Linked DNA regions of Homo sapiens: all the other regions are linked to region 1. Evidence: promoter capture Hi-C in 16 types of primary human blood cells and fetal thymus (Javierre and others, 2016). All regions are on one chromosome and are shown on one strand. The core of a region is centred on a gene start or on the middle of the fragment in contact, and the rest is flanking DNA. Distances in the headings are between cores, read along the strand shown.

Evidence for each region. The method cuts DNA at HindIII sites, captures the fragments that hold promoters and counts their contacts. A CHiCAGO score of 5 or more calls a contact.
Region 2: a fragment that was not itself captured here is called in contact with the fragment with the promoter of PPP6C in region 1 in 2 of 17 cell types (naive CD8 T cells and total CD8 T cells); the score reaches 6.0 in naive CD8 T cells.
Region 3: the fragment with the promoter of WDR38 here is called in contact with the fragment with the promoter of PPP6C in region 1 in 1 of 17 cell types (endothelial precursors); the score reaches 6.5 in endothelial precursors.
Region 4: a contact is called between a fragment that was not itself captured here and the fragment with the promoter of PPP6C in region 1, in 3 of 17 cell types (M1 macrophages, endothelial precursors and megakaryocytes). The highest score is 7.6, in M1 macrophages.

Annotation. Positions count from the first base shown.
Region 1 is chr9:125,188,242-125,191,264 of GRCh38, reverse strand. It overlaps PPP6C (protein phosphatase 6 catalytic subunit), which reads left to right and starts at 1,462. Exons shown (of 7, transcript NM_002721.5): 1 at 1,462-1,621. The coding sequence starts at 1,547. RefSeq lists enhancers at 1,185-1,264, 567-1,353, 1,354-2,140. The HindIII fragment of the contact is 2,825 bases long and covers 812-3,023 here.
Region 2 is chr9:124,760,177-124,763,199 of GRCh38, reverse strand. The region is part of intron 1 of NR6A1 (nuclear receptor subfamily 6 group A member 1); the gene reads left to right. It overlaps LOC124900274 (a long non-coding RNA gene), which reads left to right. Exons shown (of 2, transcript XR_007061773.1): 1 at 1-3,023. Among named protein-coding and RNA genes, the nearest start is that of NR6A1, 9.6 kb to the left of the region's middle. RefSeq lists enhancers at 1,564-2,118, 2,119-2,674. The HindIII fragment of the contact is 564 bases long and covers 1,288-1,851 here.
Region 3 is chr9:124,852,047-124,855,069 of GRCh38, reverse strand. WDR38 (WD repeat domain 38) reads right to left here and starts at 1,610. Exons shown (of 9, transcript NM_001045476.3): 1 at 1,470-1,610; 2 at 745-865. The coding sequence starts at 1,538. RefSeq lists a silencer at 1,509-1,558. The HindIII fragment of the contact is 17,878 bases long and covers 1-2,343 here.
Region 4 is chr9:124,912,531-124,915,553 of GRCh38, reverse strand. All of the region lies in intron 10 of GOLGA1 (golgin A1), which reads left to right. Among named protein-coding and RNA genes, the nearest start is that of GOLGA1, 27 kb to the left of the region's middle. The HindIII fragment of the contact is 1,391 bases long and covers 845-2,235 here.

The sequences.
Region 1 (3,023 bases), core at 213-2,712:
TGACGTCAGGTGATCTGCCTGCCTTGGCCTCCCAAAGTGCTGAGATTACAGGCATTAGCCACCGCGGCCTGGCCAATAGGCACTATGTAACTATTAGTTTAATGAATGAAGAAATGAATGCTTGTGGGCATCATTCATTCTGCAACAAACTTCTAAAAATTAATTTTACTTTGAAACAATTTCATACTTTCAGAGGAGTTACAAGAATAATACAAAGAAGTTCACCCAGATATCTCATTCAGGGTTAGCCAATTGTCCACAAAATATACTTTAGAGAGCAAGAGGATTAATTCCAGGGTCTCTTGAGCAACAAATATTTATTGAGCGCCTGCTACTATTGGATTACATAACAGTCTCTTAACTGGTCTCTTAGCTATAGGCATTGCACCCCCACCCCTAGTCCCATACAGCAGCTCCTTTTACTAATTTATTTTTGAGGAGGATCTCGCTCTGTCGCCCAAGCTGGAGTGCAGTGCCGCGATCTCAGCTCACTGCAACCTCCGCCTCCCAACTCAAGCGGTTCTCCTGCCTCAGCCTCCAGAGTAGCTGGGACCACAAGCACGCACTACCGCGCCAGGCTAATTTTGGTACTTTTTGTAGCTACAGATAGAATAGAGATCTTTGTCTATTTTGTTCACGAAGTACTGCAAGCGCCTTGAGCTGTACCTGGCACATCTTTGTTGCTCAGCAAAGAGTGGTTGGATAAACGAACGCTGAAGGTATGCTAGTACCAGGTACTGTTCTCGGTGCTGGAGTTACAGCAAAAAACTCCCTGCCCTCGTGGGATTCTCACTGGAAGCATGCTTAAGCTTAAGCCATTTTTCAATCTTGACCCCACCATTTTGTTCCCTGTGAGATTTGGGGTGAACTGCAGTTTCCTAGCCTCACTTTCCTATCAATCGTTACGAAGATTAAAAGGAAAAATATCATTTGTATCGCATTTAGCATCAGAAATGCTTTAATAATATTCGTTTCCCTTCCTTTCAGGCTGGAAGACTGGGGCCTGACATCTCTGCCACAGGCTTAGGCGAGGTTTTCACAGGGACTTGGAAAGGTGCAAACGGTTACTACGGCCAGGCTTACCCAATTGTTAAGTGAAGATATTCTGGAGAGTGCTTAAAAGGGTTGGAAAAACAAACCAGTGAGTGGCTAGGACCACCTACTCCGCTGTTTTGCCTCGGAAAAGCCTCGCCGGCTGCCGGGAGGTGAAAGTCTGGAGGAACGGGAGGAAAAGAGAGGGGTGGCTGTCCACAACAGAAAACTACACATCCCAGCACCCCCGCGGCAGACGACTACGGGTCCCAGCAGGTTTCGCGGGGTGGACCGAAGCGGGCTCTCTTGGGGCCTGCAGTCGGGGTTCAGCCAGAGGGGGCGCCGGGCGTACCGACGTAGCGGGGAGAAACGGGTCGCGCTTTAACGGCGCTGCGCAGGCGCCACTCACGGGCCGGACGTGACGCAGGGAAAGTTCCGGCTTCGGCCTCCGCCGCTGCCGCCGCCGCTGCTACAGCCGCCGCCGCCGCTGTTGCCGCGGCTTGTTATTCTTAAAATGGCGCCGCTAGACCTGGACAAGTATGTGGAAATAGCGCGGCTGTGCAAGTACCTGCCAGAGAACGACCTGAAGGTGAGCCCTATTTGCGGGCTCGCCCCTTCCGGCTGTGGGGCGCCCGCCGGCCGGCCCTTCCTTTCTCCAGGACCCCCGCCGGGTATCCAGTCCAGTCGCGGTGGAGGGCCTCCCCCATTGCCAGTCGACCCGGTCCTACCCGGCGTCACGCCGAGGGTCTCGCGAGCCGAGTCGTCGAATGCTGTCCCGGTTGCCTCAGTGGGGATCCCGAGGGATGTCGCGGCCTCTGTCCCAGGGTCGCCCCTTCTGGCCTTCGGGCTGCCCCAGGACCCGCAGCTGTAACAGCTTTATTTAGAAGGCTCGGCTCCCCACCCCATCCCTGGGTCTCCCGCAGTCGGAGCCGAGCCCCCGCGGCAGTGCCCTCGGGATGGGGTCGCCTCCACCGGAGGTGACAGGAGCGCGGAGTGGCCGGCGTCTGACAGGAGATGCCACCGGCTACCGGAACGCGGCCTCAGTGTGTTTAGGTCTCTGAGGAAGGGGAAGGCGGTGGGCCCGAGTGGTTTGGTACTGGCGGGAGCGAACGTCAGGTCGTCCCTCTTCATTGCCACTCCTCCAAATTGCTTTTTAGGATCGTCGGTTTTGCTAATTCAGAGGTGAATCCCGTTTCTGAGTATGTTGTTGAGCTTACTGAAGTGGATAAAGTAGTTGGTTCTCAATAAATACAAATACTTTCTCCTTAACCCCTTCTTAACTCAGTATTTCATTTTCTTCGTTTTCTAAAGGAGGTGAGTTCCTTGTTACTCCTGAGTCCAAGTAAGAGTAAATGTATGTATGGGTAAAGGAATGACTTTGGTATACTGCTTTTCTTTTTTAAAACTTTTTAATTATTATTATTATTATTATTATTATTGTTTTTAACTGAGATAGAGTCTCACTCTGTCACCCAGGCTGGAGTGCAGCGGTGCGATCTTGGCTCACTGCAACCTCCACTTCCCGGGTTCAAGCGATTCTCCTGCCTCAGCCTCCCGACTAGGTGGAATTACAGGCGCCCGTCACGACGCCCGGCTGTTTTGTATTTTTAGTAGAGACGGGGTTTCGCCATGTTGGCCAGGCTGGTCTTGAACTCCTGACCTCAAGTGATCCGCCCGCTTCGGCCTACCAAAGTGCTGGTATTACAGGCGTGAGCCACCGCGCCGGCCTAGGTATACTGCTTCTTTGAAAAGTGTTTCTATGCATTTGCTGAAATCAGAGCTTAGGTTTCTAGCAGTGCTTATCAGCTCGTGCTAGTATTTAACCGACTCAGTGTATTCTTTTTTTTTGAGACGGAGTCTCGCTCTGTCGCCCAGGCCGGAGTGCGGTGGCACCATCTCGGCTCACTGCAACCTCCGCCTCCCGGGTTCACGCCATTCTCCTGCCTCAGTCTCCCGAGTAGCTGGGACTACAGGTGCCCGCCACCACGCCT
Region 2 (3,023 bases), core at 320-2,819, 430 kb after region 1:
GACCCTTGAGTACATGTACTTTTGATATTCTGTGTGACAAAATGGAAAAGTACATGCCAAGCACTTCTGGTGCAAACTAAAATGGTTGTTTTAAGACAAAGTGCTTGTGTGATTATGTTGTGATCTGAGCCAGCTACTTTTGTTCATGGAATACTTGAAATAATTAAACTATACTTGATTCAGCCTTGGGCATTTGGCAGACTATTTTTTTCTTAAACGAACAGTGAGTCTGTCATATCAAGGAAAACTGACAGTATTGGTTGCCAGTAAATAAAATTTGAGCTTTCAAGCAACAATTAGTTTTGGAAAACTTGTACTTGCCACTAAGAGCTTGACAGCTTCCCAATGATTAATGTCTTCTGATGAGATGGATGATGAAATAAATATGATTTTCGATGTTATGAAATGTGTCAACATTTTGAAAATCTGAATATCTCAGTAATTCAGTATTTTCCAAAAGATCTATGTGTGATATTACAGGATCCTACACAGCTAAGAGATCTGTTCAAAATGCCAGATTGATCAATGGATTTTAATGTAACGGATTACACATAGTTCATTGATATGGTTTTAAACTCACACTGAACTAACCTTTAAGAAAGTACCACTTAATTGAGTTTTGGTGTAGTATCAAAGAAGACTATCCACAATTACTTTAAAAAGCAAATACTTCTTCCTTTTCCGATTATAAATCTGTGGGGCCAGATTTTCTGCCTGTGCTTCAACAACAACAAAAAATCACAATATACTGAATGGGTAAACAGATAGGAGATCTAGCTGCTAGGATTAAGCCAGATATTAAGGAGATTAGCAAAATGTAAAACAATGCCACTCTTCTAATTTTTATGTTTTATTGGACAATTTTATTTTTCATAAAAATGTTATTTGTACTAACGTGAATTTATTAAATTTAAATGGATTATCAAATATTTTAAATTTTTCATAGGTTTATTTTCCAGTATGATAAATATCAATAGACAAAGCCACATAAATATCAACCCTTTAGGGTCCTTCATAATTTTTAAGAGTGTAAAAGGGATCCTGAAGAACACTCAGGCATAAATATATGAGAACTCCAGGTCTAAATGAACTAACGAAATGTGTAAAGAAGATGGTGACTTCACCAGATACCATTAGTAGTACTTTTTTTACTTTGGAGTTTTCTTACTTCCCTCGATAATTGAGCTACTTTTATTGAAAATGAGTTCATATCATTTTAAGTTTTCTTTGCTTGGGAATACATGAAATGTGTGGTAGTGCACTCTCACTGAGTTCTCTGATAAAGCTTTTGTTACCTGCTACATGAAACCTGTTGCTTAACTGATAATTGTCTTGTGGCAGCAGTTTTTCAAGAGAACCAGTTGCCTCACCAAGGGTAGACTTACATTTGTGGAAATAAATCTGACAACAGAATTTCTTAAGAGTCATTGCTATAGAATAATGAACAATTTATAAGAGATAAAGATCCTATCGTGCTTTTTAAAACTTCCATCAAGAATAGTTTGCTTATTTGCTTTCCTTAGACATGTTTGGCTTCACTGAGTCTTAGAGTTGTGATTTCGGTAATGCAGTTTTGTAAATTGGTTTGCTTTTAACCTGGTTTTCACTGAGATGGTAATAAAGTCTGTATAGGAGAGGCATCTCTTCCTCTGGTCGAAGAATATCCTTTCCTAGTGTGAGTAACATTTTAGTGTAAGTCAATTACTGTGTTGTTAAAGAGTTAGAAATTTACTCCTTAGGGTAGTTACTAGGTAGAACTCATCCTGTAGTGGGCTTGCTGGCTGAAGAAATGTCACATAACAATGTGAATAACAAATAAGGAGTTACCGCATCAGAACTCAAGGTGAAGCTTGGATAGGTGTTGAAAGATCAGTGAGATAATTATTTGGGCTTCCTTCCTAAGAGCTCTAATTATCTTGATATTCTTGGAGTTTCATGTAATGTACCTTTGAAAACATTTTTGTGTTTTGTGGGGATTGCAGCTTAGTTATAAGAAAATACAAGCCTTTCTTTTATTTCTTAATGTTTGGATTTGAAGATTCATGTGAAATCTTCAATTGCATTCTTCAGTTGAGTTAAATTGCTTTAATTACGAAACCTAATAACTGAGACAGATTTGGCTTTTTTCTTCCATATTCTTTCTGTACCCTTGAAGTCTAACCTGTCAGGAGACTTCCTCTCTCTATTCTTGGAATCCTTCCCCCAAGATGCCTTTTTAGCAGGATAATAAACCACCTGGGGGAAGCCCCCCATTGACATGCATTTAGAGGGCTTTGTTTTTTGGAAATGGCAATAGTAGTCCCATCCAGGGAGGAAGGATTTTGGTTAGATGGTGTGAGGCAAAGAGCAGGGACTCTGGAGTGTGGCCTAACAAAGATCACAGCTATGCGACTTTGTCACTTGACTTCTCTGAACTTTAGTGTTCTCATTTAACATTAATAGCTAACATTTACATAGTGTTTATAATCTAAACACCTTATGTATATTTATCGTCTTAACTCTGAGGTAGGTGTTCTGTTATCCCCATCTTACAGGAGAAAACTGAGACCCACAGAGTTTAAACCTCCAGATTTCGCAGCTAGTAACAGCATTAATAATTTGTTTCATAGATTTAACATCCCCTCTTCTCCAATATACTCTGACATTTCTGAAATTGACTGTAGGGTTATAAGGATTAGAGACAAGGTCTGTAAATTGCCAAGCATAGTATCTGCCTAAAAGCAAAAACCTGAGAATCTGGGGCATTTATCTATGTTGGAGAGGCCCAGAATTCAACTTTTATTGATTAGAGAGCCAAAAAGACCCACTCTTAGAATTGCAAGTGACTTTTTTCTTTTCTCTCATGCTGGCTTTTATTTTATTTTTATTTTTATTTATTTATTTTTTTTTAGTTGGAGTCTCACTCTGTCTCCCAGGCTGGAGTGCAGTGGCGAGATCTTGGCTCACTGCAGCCTCCGCCTCCCTGGTTTAAGTGATTCTCCTGCTTCAGCCCCTGGAGCAGCTGGGATTACAGGTGCCCGCCA
Region 3 (3,023 bases), core at 361-2,860, 340 kb after region 1:
TCCACTTAGAGGCACCCAGAGAGGTCAGATTCATCGAGACAAAAAGAAAAACAGTGGTTGTCAGGGGCTGGGAGGAGGGAGATTGGGGACTTGTTTAGTGGGGACAGAGGTTCAGTTCTGCAAGAGGAAGAGCTCTGGAGATTGGTGTCACGACAATGTGAAGGTACTGGATTCTCTGAACTGTACACTTAAAAATGGACACAACAAAGCCGGTGCAGTGGCTCACGCCTTTAATCCCAGCACTTTGGGAGGCCGAGGTGGGTGGATCACGAGGTCAGGAGTTCAAGACCAGCCTGGCCAAGATGGTGAAACCCCGTCTCTACTAAAGATACAAAAAAATTAGCTGGGTGTGGTAGCAGGTGTCTATAATTCCAGCTACTCGAGAGGCTGAGGCAGAGAATTGCTTGAACCCAGGAGGCGGGGGTTGCAGTGAGCCGAGGTTGTCCAGCCTGGGTGACAGAGAGCGACTCTGTCACACACAAAAAAGGATGCAACAGTAAGTATTACTGTGTTACATTACAGTTGTTTTTGTATGTATGTGTGTGTGTGTGTGTGTTTTTAAAGAAGGCTGAGTCCAGGCCTGTTAGAGTCTAAGCCCCAGCACCCAGATATCTCGTCCCATCTCCCAACCTGCCCAGCCCTGCCTTGCACCCGTGCCCAGCTCATCGGAGGTCACTGCAGTCAGCTCTGCAGCATGCCAGACCCTTGTGCCTCGGTCTTCCCGGCCAGGTGTGGGAGCCCCACCTGTGTGGCCACCCAGCCTCCACAGCAGCTGCCCACTCCGGGTCTCCCAGCCATACACGCAGCCATCTTCTGAGCCTGTGAGCAGCATCTGGCCATCAGGGGAGAAGGCAGAAGAGTTGACCTAGAAACAGCACAAAAGCGGTCCCATTCTGGGGAAGAAACCCCTGTCCGCTCATCTCTGACCCCTAAACACTGCCCCCCAAGAGCCTGGGGTTGGAGCTTGACTTCAAGCCTCACTCCACCACCAGAGCCCAGAACCCGGGACCCACTGGGCCCTCTCTCGAGTCCCGTAAAGCCAGAGCCTGCAGTTGGAGGCAAGAGCCTTCTCTGGAACCAGAGCCTGGAACCCCAGAGCTAAGAGCCCATTCCAGAGCCGCAGCTGACAACGGAGAGTCCAGAATCTACTCTAAGTTCTGAGTTCACTTTAGAGCCAGGGCCCCAGAAAACACCAGAGTCAGCAGGGAGCTTTGTGCCCCTCTCGAGGCAGAGCCCAGAGCCCGGGGCTCTTTTTACAGGCAGAGCTTAGAACCTAGAGCTGCTCTGGAGCTGGGGCCCGGCACTGGAGCTGAGAACCTACTTCGATCCTTCTTGGGTTAGCAAAGTCTACTCTGGACTCAATGTCCTGAGCCACTGCCCAGAGAACATTCTGGAACCCCCACTACACAGAACCAGGAACCACTCTGCATCCAAAGCCGGGAGTCTGGGCAGAGCCCGCTGGACCTCACCTCCCCGCCGTGCTGGCCGAAGAATTTCACTCTCCGCACGGCCAGCGTGGCCGGGACCCCGCTGTTCATGGGCACCCGGCCCCGCCCCGCCCCGGCGGGCTCCCTCCTAGGCGGCCGCGGGACCCCAGGACTGGGCAGAGGAAAGAGGAAACTGTGTACAGGCGGTCTCCATGGTAATCGGGGCGGGGCGTGCGGCCATGGTGGGGTCCCTGCGAAGCCACGAGGACTGACAGGCAGGCCAGACCGCTTGCAGTTCGGCGGAGGTGGAGCCGCAGCAGGCGGGACCGCGGCGGGCTGGGAGAAGGGACTTCCCGCGCCAGCGGCTGCGCGTCCACTCTAGGGCAGCTCTCGCGCGGGGCAACACGGCAGGCAGAGCGGCCACTAGAGGGCGCGCCAGCCACACGCACCGCGCGGCCCAGAGCCCGGCCCCGCGCCCTGCGGACTGCGAACTGCAAGGGGTCCCTGCACCTCTTTGATACAGGGGAGCAACGAGCCTGTCTCCCCATCTGCACAACCGGGAGCATCAGCCCTGCCCCACAGGACTCCAGGGGTGAGCCAAGCACAGGGCCTGGCACACGGTAGATGCCCAAGAGGGCCCCCTCAGGAGCCAATACCCCTTCCGTCCAGGAGTGGCCAGTACTGAGGTTAAGGATGTCCCAGGAGAGCGCTGGGGACAGTAGCCAGCTCTGTCCTCCAGGGCGTGGAAGCCAGAGGTAGTGTGTGTAAAGTACATGGCATTAAAAGTGGGGTCACGTTGCTGTTAACATTCCTGGCAGCACAAAATGTGCCATCTGAGGATGGGGTGGAGGCTGGGGCTGGGGGGCAGTTGCCCAGGAGCTGCCAGGATCCTTACCGGATAGCGCAATCTGAAGCTTGGAACGAGCAGGACTTGGTTTCATTGTTAATTTACAGGTGAAGAAACTCACCCGGAGAGCTGGGAGGACTTGCTCAGAGCCACTCAGCCAGTAGGAGTGGAACTGGGATTTCAGCCCATGGCTGTCTGACTCTGGGTGTCTGTACTGGGACCACCTGCCATGAACTCCAGGGACCTCTCAGCAGATGTTGAGGTCCGCAACTCCTGGTACATCTGGGAAACTGAGGTCCGAAGGGGGCAGGACTTGGCCCAGCCATCTAGCCGGTGCTTCCATGGCAGAGCTGGGGCAGGACCCAGTCTCCCCACTCCCACAGCAGGACAGGGAGGGAACAGAGGACCCCCCACCTGCCCCGCCCATGGATTCTAGGCTCCCTGGGGGCAGGGGTGGAGCAGCTGGGCTTTGGGAGCTTCAAACTCAAGAGTTCCCAGCGGCGACTCACACCCTCCCCCCCTAAACCTCTTTGCCAGAAACTTCTCAGGAGATCCGCTGTGCTCCTGCTATTTTAAGTCCCAGACAGTCAGGCGGGTGAGGGAGCGACAATGACAGCTTTGAGGCAGTCCCACTCCATCCCAGATCCCAGAGGGCCTAGGTCACTGTGGGACCCTTCTGAGCTGGGCCTATAAAGCTGTCCCCCCACACCCAGATGTGGCTCCCAGACACAGCTCCCCAGAGCTACTAT
Region 4 (3,023 bases), core at 291-2,790, 280 kb after region 1:
ATAATGAAGGAAAAAAAGGCATGTTGGGAGAACCAAAAGGATAGACAAGTGGTTAACGCTTAGAAAGGAAGTGGAAACGGTGCTAGATGAGGCTGGGAAGGTATGCAGGGCCAGTTGTATAGACTAAATAGTGAACATGAAATTTCATAAATAATCATTAGTGAATATTTAACAAGAATAGCTGAGCATTTACCCTGAGCTCAGTATTCAAGAGCTTTACAGATAGGGACTCATCGAGTCCTCACAACTACCCTTTGGTTAGACAGTGTTTTCCTATTTTACAGGTGATAGTAATGGGCATCTGACATCAAAGGCTAAATGATTTGTCAAGACCGTACAGCTGGAGTCAATGACAGAGCCAGGATTCAGACTCATGTCTGTCTGAATCAAGTGACCACCACCCAGAATTGATGCAGTCCATATTCTGGGACTATAACTGTGAGACCCAGACTCGGGAGGGAGTAGGTGAAGAGGGTGATCATTAGGAAAGGGGCAGGTTTGATGTCAGGGAGTATGGCTTGGTAACTGTTCCCGTAGTCCACATGAGGTGTAGAGGGCCTGAAGTAAATCAGCCAGCCTGGAGAAGGAGATCGCATATCAATATGTTGCACAAGAGGCATAAGTGGAACTTGGCCACTGATTCTTTTTCTGTCCCTAACTTTGCCTAACACAGTGACCTGTGTAAGATGTGTTGTTTTGGTTTTAACTGGAATGGGTCATCTATACCTCTTGAATTCAGATTGATGTGTAGGGGAACAAATGCAGACTTTGGATCCAGAAGACCTGGATTTAAATTCTTCATCTATCGCTAATAGGTATATGCCTTTGGGCTAGTCCCTAAGCTTCAGTTTCCTTGTAAATGGATGTGATAAAGAGCATTTGTAAGGACTAGACATAATAGGAAGTGCTTGCAGCGTTCCCTTGACCCTATATGTCTGTCTTTACGCTATTACCACACTGTCTTGGTCATTGTCACTTTAGAGTTGAAATCAGGTAATGTTCTCCAACTCTTACATCAACAGTTACTCTTTTTCTTTCCTTTTTTTTTTTCTTTGAGACGGAGTGTCGCTCCTCGCTCAGGCTGGAGTGCAGTGGCGCGATCTTGGCTCACTGCAAGCTCCGCCTCCCAGGTTCACGCCGTTCTCCCGCCTCAGCCTCCTGAGTAGCTGGGACTACAGGCGCCTGCCACCACGTCCGGCTAATTTTGTTTTTGTATTTTTAGTAGAGATGGGGTTTCACCGTGTTAGCCAGGATGGTCTCGATCTCCTGACCTCGTGATCTGCCCACCTCAGCTTCCCAAAGTGCTGGGATTACAGGCGTGAGCCACCACGCCCAGCCTACAGTTATTCTTTTTCAAGATTGCTGCAGCAATCTTGTTATAGCTGCTTCTGCTATATTACAGTTATAACTATTGCTAGTATTAACATTAGTAATAAGAGACCCATAAAGATGGGTCAACATGGCCAAAACTGGCTTTTTTTTTCCTATCACACTCACTCACTTTCCTGTGTTATCCACCTTGCATAATGTTACCATTTGCCCAGGTGTCTGAGCCACAGACCTGAGAGTTGTGTTCAGCTGTTCTTTCCTCCTCACCCAGCCTCTAGCCTTGCAGGACTTGTCTGTTACCTCTTTGTATGTGCTGCCCTTTATGCAGAATGATTGTTCCTCTTCCACCCTCTTTCACCTGGACTTGCCCATTCAGGAGGCCTGATCTGATTCTCCCAGTTAATCCCTCTTGCATCTCATATCTCATAGCACGGTGTGTGTCCCTCTGTTGAAGCACAGTTGTTTTGTAATTAGGTGTGTGTCTGTCTCCACCACCAGCCTCCATGCTGGAATTAATGTTGATTGTATCCTCAGAAAACAACAGATAGAGTTCAGGCTTGATGAAAGTTTATTGAATTGTGGGGTCATAAATCTAGTCTTCAGACTTCCCCTCCACTATCTCTGTTGTCCACCTGTGAGAATTCAGAATGGCAAATACTTCTTCCCAAAACCATACACCCTGGTTGCTGCATCTTATCCTGAGGAGAGATCGGCCAAGTTACAACTGAACATGAAAGTTTATGGCTTGAAATGGAGCAACGGAAGTGTAAGATAAGGGAATTTGAGGGAACAGAGTACATGTAAAGAGGTACAAGTCTTCACAGTGAGATTTTGTTGCCCTACAACCTTTTCTGGGGAAGAATGGGCATCCTCAGTGGGGATGTAAGAACTCATGTATTCAAAGCTTCCTGGATCCTCTGCTTTGACATTGAGCAGTGATATGGTTAGGCTCCGTGTCTCATCTCAAATTGTAATGCCCACATGTCAAGGGAGGGACCTGGTGGGAGGTGATCGGATCATGGAGGCAGATTTCTCCTTTGCTGTTCTTGTGATAGTGAGTGAGTTCTCATGAGAGCTGATGGTTTTACAGTATGGCACTTCCCCCCTCGCTCGCTTGCTCTATCCTGCCACCGTGTAAGATGTACCTTGCTTCCCCTTCTCCTTCTGCCATGCTTGTAAGTTTCCTGAGGCCTCCCAGCCATGTGGAACTGTGAGTCAATTAAATCTCTTTCCTTTATAAATTACTCAGTCTCAGGTATTCTTTATAGCAGTGTGAGAATGGACTAATACAAGCAGCAGTTGAAGATTAGTAGCAGTAAAAGGAACCAAGTTAGTCCCAACCTGTTGCTACCACCACTACCATCATAGCTAAAGAGATAGACTGGCCAGGCACAGTGGCTTACGCCTGTAATCCTAGCACTTTGGGAGGCCGAGGCTAGTGGATCATGAGGACAGGAGATTGAGACCATCCTGGCCAATATGGTGAAACCCCGTCTCTACTAAAAATACAAAAAATTAGCCGGGTGTGGTGGTGGGCGCCTGTAGTCCCAGCTACTCGGGAGGCTGAGGCAGGAGAATGGCGTAAACCCAGGAGGTGGATGTTGCAGTGAGCCGAGATCGCGCCACTGTACTCCAGCCAAGGCAACAGAGCGACACTCCGTCTCAAAAAACCAAAAATAATAGATTGAAATAAA